2 separate regions of the Homo sapiens genome follow, and region 2 is linked to region 1. Evidence: promoter capture Hi-C in human tissues and cell types (Jung and others, 2019). All regions are on one chromosome and are shown on one strand. Each heading gives the region's core, a stretch centred on a gene start or on the middle of the fragment in contact. The rest is flanking DNA. Distances are from core to core; before and after follow the strand shown.

Evidence for each region. Contacts are between HindIII fragments. The study calls those that stand out against the background at their distance.
Region 2: a contact is called between a fragment that was not itself captured here and the fragment with the promoter of SSR3 in region 1, in 1 of the 25 tissues and cell types used here (mesendoderm cells).

Annotation. Positions count from the first base shown.
Region 1 is chr3:156,553,604-156,557,793 of GRCh38, reverse strand. SSR3 (signal sequence receptor subunit 3) reads left to right here and starts at 2,677. Exons shown (of 5, transcript NM_007107.5): 1 at 2,677-2,837; 2 at 4,013-4,139. The coding sequence starts at 2,705. RefSeq lists an enhancer at 2,739-2,818. The HindIII fragment of the contact is 9,549 bases long and covers 1-4,190 here.
Region 2 is chr3:156,050,259-156,053,960 of GRCh38, reverse strand. No RefSeq gene overlaps it. Among named protein-coding and RNA genes, the nearest start is that of KCNAB1, 68 kb to the left of the region's middle. The HindIII fragment of the contact is 4,265 bases long and covers 1-3,602 here.

The DNA.
Region 1 (4,190 bases), core at 1,428-3,927:
TTTCACAAAGTCATCAGTAATCTCTTATCCATATACCTGACAGCAAAAAATATTATTGCTTGGGGTTTTTCCTCCAATCTGAAAAGAATCAAGTGATATAATAGAAAATATACAAGAAAGCCTGAAATTCATAGAATAGACTCAGACTGCTATGGAATCAAGTCCATTTGGTTCCTTCAGAGTTAAGCTATGTTGAAATGGGCAAAATATATTGTAGATCTTTGCTTGGGTAGAATTTACTACCCACCTCTCCTTCTGTTTTTTAGCACATTGTGTACCCTGGTTGTCCAGTGTGCCACGGCTATGTGTGCCACGGCTATATATGCCACATACAAGTGATCCTTAGGTCTTGCTGCTTGCTTTTTAAAGGGAACTAGGTAGCTCTGGTGCAAGAAAACACTGCTTCAGTACTCCAAGTGTGCCACCTTCATAATTGTAATTGTTGCCATTACCAAAAATATTCTATCATAAGTATCATTCCCTATCATATTTCTCTAATTTACCCCCACAAAATAATTTGAAATTCATATTTTAGATTATCTTCTGTTTATAGTTACCTTTAGCTTTACAAAATGTATTAATTTTTTTCTGCTAGCTTTTTTTGATTATATCAATTGTAACATTTATATCCACTAAACATTTCAAACTTTTATCTTTCCTATTTTAATTGTTAAAATATTTTTCTCAGGCATAATTTTTTTAAATCTCATCCTTATCATTTCTTCTTTTCTTCTTTTAAAAGAAAGATGATTGTTGTCTCTTTGGATCTTTTAGTTTTCTGATTTTTTTTTTTTTTTTTTTTTGATGGAGTCTTGCTCTGTTGCCAGGCTGGAGTTGGAGTGTAGTGGCGCGATCTTGACTCACTGCAACCTCTGCCTCCCGGGTTTAAGTGATTCTCCTGCCTCAGCCTCCTGAGTAGCTGGGGACTACAGGCGTGCGCCACCATGCCTGGCTAATTTTTGTATTTTTAGTAAAAGCGAGGTTTCACCATGTTGGCCAGGATGGTCTCGGTCTCTTGACCTTGTGATCCACCCACCTTGGTCTCCCAAAGTGCTGGGATTACAGGCATAAGCCACCGCACCCAGCCTCTGATTTTTATCTTTTATCTTCTTTTTATATCCTTAGTTTGTTTATAAATAGGCAGAAGAAAATCTAGTTATAGAGACAGATCCAAAAAGTTTTATTTATGAATTGGTCATAGATGGAGAAGGAAAAAAATAATTAGTGTTGAAACCCACTATTTTAACCAGAACAACAAATGAGTTTAAAAGAATGCAACTTAGTGAGATAGGAAAAACTGGGGGAGGAGTATGTGTAAGAGAAAATAATAATTTCTTCTTCTATCACTACCATGTAATAAAATAAAGAGCATTTTTAACATCAAAAAAGACATAAACCCAGATATTTTTAAATGAATACTTTTGATTTTCTGAAAAATTCACTAGATGGTCTTTTTTTCTTTTTCATTTTGTGGTGAATTAATGAAAACTTCTGGCATTAAGGAACACTTGCGGTAGATAATGGAAGGATTTATATTTCAGGAAAACTCACTCTGGTACCTGTATAGAGAATAGACTGGAAAAGATTGAAGACAAAAGCCCAATTAGGACTAGTAATAGGAAGCTGTGGAGGTAGATTACAATTTGGATACTGTGAGGAAGAAAGATATCTACCAAACGGTTAATAAGGAGGCTGGAGGTTGAGGAAATTGTGCCTAATGCACTAGAGTGTTCTCAGTAATCAAAAGTAGCATTTGCTGGGAGTGATGTGGTTGAATTTTTTTTTGAAGAAAAAATGATAATGTGTTGAGTTAAAAATGGAATCTAGCTGTTTTAATAGACATACTTAATCCTTCTGAGCTTCAGAGAGGGAGTCTTGCCTAGCCAACCTGTTCTTAGTATTATGTTTTATTTAGCATGGCTTTGGAAGCCACAAAACTCTATAGGTCTAGTTGAAATAAAATAAAATAGTAGTAACTTGTATCAGACATATATTAAATATTGCCTTCATCAATGAGATCATGAGTTTCTTAAAAGCAAGAGTCCCATTTTCTTCTTCCTACAGAGGTGGCCTATTGTTTAGTGAAAAGAGCCCACGCCTTGGAGACCCACACCGCAGGTCTACGACCCTCAGGCTCTTCAGCTGCAATGGCGGTAATGATGCGCACGTCATAAGATTCTTCAAGGTATTTAATGAAATAAAGGATGTGTAAAGGAGAAGGGATTTTACATGAGTTAGCTATACCTTTCTCTTCTTTCTTCTTCAACGTACTCAGTCCTGGGTACGCACAGAGGGCACTAATGGCGTGGGGCCAGAAGAGCTTTTAATTTTGGAATTCTGAAGAACTGAGAACTCGTGAGTCTGTCAGCAGCTCTGAAGTGGAATATCAATAAAGTTTTGTTAATTTTTTTTAAAGCACCGACTAAACTACAAATCCCTTCTCTCTCCTCCAGGTGGGTGGGTCACGTGGCTTGTCAGGAATCCGGAAGTCTGGCCCGCTCGCCCAATCACGCCCGGAAGCCTATCTAGTGGCGCCAAGCTGGCCAATCCTGGGGACGCTTGCTCTTCGCCAAACCGGGTCCCGCCTCCGCGCGCCGCGCTGACGGGTCGTTAGCGGATACGGCGGCCGCAGGGGCGGAGTCAAGGGCCTTTGCCCGCCTTGGCGGCCGGCTCTACGTTCCCTGTTCTCGCCTGCAGCTCCGCCATGGCTCCTAAAGGCAGCTCCAAACAGCAGTCTGAGGAGGACCTGCTCCTGCAGGATTTCAGCCGCAATCTCTCGGCCAAGTCCTCCGCGCTCTTCTTCGGAAACGCGTTCATCGTGTCTGCCATCCCCATCTGTGAGTGCTGGGAGCGAGGCGGGTTAGGCAGGCCGCCGGCTAGTCGGGCTGGGCGGGGACGTGGCAGGACCCGGCGAGCAGGGAAGGCGTGGGTGCCGGCCGGGGGTCGGCAATCTCTCCAGCTCCCCTGAGCTCGGGGAGGCACGGAGCCTCTTCTTTGGGCACAGTGTTGTCGCTTGGGATTGTCCTGTGCAGCACTCGGGGAGGTCACTTGTTAAAAGTACGCACGTTCCCGAGCTCCACCCCAGGAGAAGGTGGTTAACTAGTTCTGGGGTGGCGGCCCCGAATCTCTATTTAAACAGACAAACTCAAGCATACTGCCTCTGCCCTTTTCTATACAACTGTTGCTTGCCGTTACGAAATTTTAAACTTATTACTTATTTTGCATAAATTAGTTAGGTGAGAAACCCATGAAGTGACCCACTGAATTATAAGTGCATCTTTACGTGAGCTACTTCACACCATTGCATAATTTTCCTGGTTTTTGCAAAAAGAGAGAGGTTGAAGTGCCAGGGGTTAGGGATCTACCTTATTTATACTTTTTAATAATCCTACTGGACCAATTCTAGAATTCTCACTTGGTTGGGAAACTGCAGACTTGGACAAGGTCGTTTTTAGTAGAGCTCAAGTTTCCAGAACTCCTGTCTTTTGCTGCACTGTTGTTGGGCATTTAAAACTAAATGTATTTTTCTCTTTTGTCCTTATACAACCCAGCGTGCCATTAACGTGATGTGAAGCCATATGATGGCTCACTAATTGGACATAGCACTGCTTGGAGTTCTGATAACAGCCACGTCAGCAAGGAAACTATGGTTTGGGGCTGCACGTGGCATTTTGGAATGGCCTGTGTTTCGCATGCTAGTACCCTGATGAATGAAATTTGAAGTCTGACTTGTGATTACGTTGAGCCAGAGTTTGTTCTCATTTTAGAAGTTGAAATCTCATCTGGACTAGTAATAGGAAGGTGATGTTTTTCAAATGTTCTGAACTGGAAAGCTTGAGACTATACTGTTACTGGTTATCTCGCTTCTGAAGATCCTCAGATACTATTGGATTGCATAACTAATAACCTGGTATTTTACCAGGCTTAGCTATAATTAATTTCGCAGGCTTTTGTTGCGGGGTTGTAATGTTTTGCTTCTTTTTGTACCCTTCCCCCTTTTATTTTAATTCAGGGTTATACTGGCGAATATGGCATATGGATCTTATTCAGTCTGCTGTTTTGTATAGTGTGATGACCCTAGTAAGCACATATTTGGTAGCCTTTGCATACAAGAATGTGAAATTTGTTCTCAAGCACAAGTAAGTATGTTTTTCAAGTGAAAGTACGTACTACATGTTATATTTTTATAT
Region 2 (3,702 bases), core at 221-2,720, 500 kb after region 1:
AGGTGCTGGTTAAGCGATAACTCTAATTTCTTTGCTTTGCATCTCACCATATCAATAAATGACCCAAAGAGATTGTGTCTGTTTCACACACATGTGTACCAAGCAATGGTTTCTGGGTTAGCTAGTTGCTTTTTAAAGAACAGAAACAGCATTTGCATCCCATATCCATTTTTATTCTCTTGACACCTCCTAGAATATGGCTGTCTTCTCCAACAGCACTTGTAAAAGCACTACTAAACAAAATAAAGACAGAAAGGAAAAAGGTTTGTTTACTCACTCTAAACTTAAATGGGAAAGAAGAAGCAAGAAAGTTTTATTTATGTTTTTCAACTACTAGCAAGCTCAGGCAATCACTGACAAAATCATTTTCTACCCAGGTGGCTTTATCAAGTTAAAGGATTTCCTTATTAATCAGAAATACAAAGGGCAGTAGAAGCTAGTACAATGTAATAGTGTGTCCGGAATTGGTGGGTTCTTGGTCTCGCTGACTTCAAGAATGAAGCCGCGGACCCTCGCATGAGTGTTACAGTTCTTAAAGATGGTGTGTCCGGAGTTTGTTCCCTCAGATGTTCAGATGTGTCCGGAGTTTGTTCCTTCAGATGTTCAGATGCGTCCAGAGTTTCTTCCTTTTGATAAGTTTGTGGTCTCACTGACTTCAAGAGTGAAGCCGTGGACCCTCACAGTGAGTGTTACAGTTCTTAAAGATGGCGTGTCCAGAGTTTGTTCCTTCAAATGTTCAGATGTGTCCGGAGTTTCTTCCTTCTAGTAGGTTCATGGTCTTGCTGACTTCAGGAGTGAAGCCACAGACCTTCGCGGTAAGTGTTACAGCTCTTAAAGGCTGCGCGTCTGGAGTTATTCGTTCCTTCCGGTGGGTTCGTGGTCTTGCTGGCTTCAGGAGTGAACGTGCAGACCTTCGCGGTAAGTGTTACAGCTCTTAAAGGTGGGTGCAGACCCAAAGAGTGAACAGCAGCAAGATTTACTGCAAAGGGCGAAAGAACAAAGCTTCCATGGCATGGAAAGGAACCCGAATGGGTTTCTGCTGCAGGCTGGGGCAGCCTGCTTTTATTCCCTTATCTGACCCCACCCACATCCTGCTGATTGGTCCGTTTTACAGAGAGCTGATTGGTCTGTTTTGACAGGGTGCTGATTGGTGTGTTTACAATCCTCTAGCTAGACATAAAAGTTCTCCAAGTCCCCACTAGATTAACTAGACACAGAGCACTGATTGATGCATTTACAAACCTTGAGCTAGACACAGAGTACTGATTGGTGCATTTACAATCCTTTAACTAGACACAAAAGTTGTCCAAGTCCCCACTAGGTTAGCTAAATGCAGAGCACTGATTGGTGCATTTACAAACCTTGAGTTAGACACAGGGTGCTGATTGGTGCATTTACAAACCTTGAGCTAGACACAAAGTGCTGATTGGTGCATCCACAAACCCCGAGCTAGACACAGAGTGCTGATTGGTGCATATACAATCCTCCAGCTAGACATAAAAGTTCTCCAAGACCCCACCCGACTCAGGAGCCCAGCTGGCTTTGCCTAGTGGATCCAGTGCCTGGGCCATGGATGGAGCTGCCCACCAGTCCCACACCACGCACCTGCACACCTCAGCCCTTGGGTGGTAGATGGGACCAGGCGCCGTGGAGCAGAGGGCGGCGCTGGTCAGGTAGGCTCGAGCTGTGTGGGAGCCCATGGAGGGGAGGGTGGGGGTGGGGTGGCAGGGGAGGAGGTGGGGTGGCGGGGGAGGAGGGTGGGGTGGCGGGGGGGAGAGAAAGAAAAAGGGGGAGGGGGAGGGGGAGGTTGTGGGGGGCAGGGGGAGGGGGGAGAGCAGGAGTGGGGGGTGGGGAGAGGGGAAGAGGGAAGTGGGGGAGAGAGGGGGCAGGGGAGGTGGTGCAGAGGAGCTAGGCAGAGGGGACAACATGGTGGGGTACAGGAACCAAGCCCTGCCCCGTGGGGAGGCAGCTGAGGCCCAGTGAGAATTCAAGCACAGTGCCGGCGGGCTGGCAGTGCTGGGGGACCCGGCGCACCCTCTGCAGCTGCTGGCCCAGGTGCTAAGCCCCTCACTGCCCAGGGGCCGGCCGCTCTGACTGTGGGGCCCACTGAGCCTGCGCCCACCCGGAACTCGTGCTGGCCTGCGAGCACTGCCCGCAGCCCCAGTTCCCACCAGCGCCTCTCCCTCCACACCTCCCCGCAAGCCAAGGGAGCTGGCTCCAGCCTCCACCAGCCCAGAGAGGGGCTCCCACAGTGCACTGGCAGGCTGAAGGGCTCCTCAAGTGTGGCCAGAGCAGACGCCAAGGCCAAGGAGGCACTGAGAGTGAGCGAGGGCTGCTAACACATTGTCATCTCTCGATAGGATTATTTTGGGAAGTGATGTTAGGTTTTTAAATTTGTAGCTTTCTAATGTGTACCCTTTTATTTGAACATGTGCTTCAAATGTGCAAGTGTCAGATGTCTAAAGGATGCCAGCAAATCTGATGTGACGGTTAAACTCACCCCAAATTGTTGAGAGCTCTGTTCCCAGCCAAGCCATCATGAGCTATTACCTAGATGACAGTAATCACTACCAATTTCCAAATCACTTCCCGGCTTCCAATCTTACCACCCCATACTCTTTTCTCTACAAAGCAGCCCATTCATTCTTATTGCTGTACACTATTGCATTGAGTGAGTATATGTCAGTTTATCGATCCATTCTACTGTTGATGGACATCTGAGTAGTTTAATGCTGCTGCAAATCTTCTAGTATTCATCTTTTTGGTACACATACAGGCATAGTTTAGTTAGGTATATTTAGTTAGGTATATTCCTTGGAGTGAATTGGCTGAGTCATGGGGTAGATAGACAGATATACCCCATGACTCAGCAAATTCACTCCAAGGAAGTGAATATACACACATGTTCTTCTTCAGTGAATACCACAAGTAACTTTTTAAAGTGACAATTGACATTGCATTTTTATTTAGCCTTACCCTATTTCCTATTCTTTCAGCAGTTTTCTGCTGCTGAGCTCAGAATGGCCTGCTGAGCTTCCAGTGATTGCCTGATGGCAGCTGTGGGGTTTTCCAAGCTCTCACAGTATCAGGAGTACCTCTAACTTCTTTCTACTTCCTCCCACATCATTTCTGATACTACACAGATCTTGTAGCTTTTGCTCCTACCTGGTAGCATGTAGGTGTACATGGGGATATCGTATCACCTAGTCATGATGTAAATACCTTTCATGGGGTTTTGGCCTTGCTATTCTGGTTACTCTATTGGGGAGTGGTGTTCTGGTAGGTTCAACGACTGTATGACTGCTGCCATCTTTCCAAAATCTTCCACATATCTCCCTATGTCTTCAATTGTCACATGTCCTTATTTTTTATGTACATTATTTAAAACTTTCTATGAATACCGCTGTCTATTTTAGGCTATTTGATTTTATTCTCTGGATGGCTAACTGATCACTGAAGATTCATGTTCCCTTTTCATAATATGGAATTGTTGATGAATATGGCTTCTTAACCAGGGGCCACATTTACCAGCTCTCTTGCCTTAAAAAGGGGCCATGTGATGACTTCTGGCCAATAGAATGTGAACAAAAATGATCTGTGTCACTTTATGGGCCTTGGTGGCTGAGTATCTTACATGCTCATGTTCTCTTCCCCAAGACTTCACACTTTCATTTCAGACGACCTCACGGGTCCTCTTCCCCT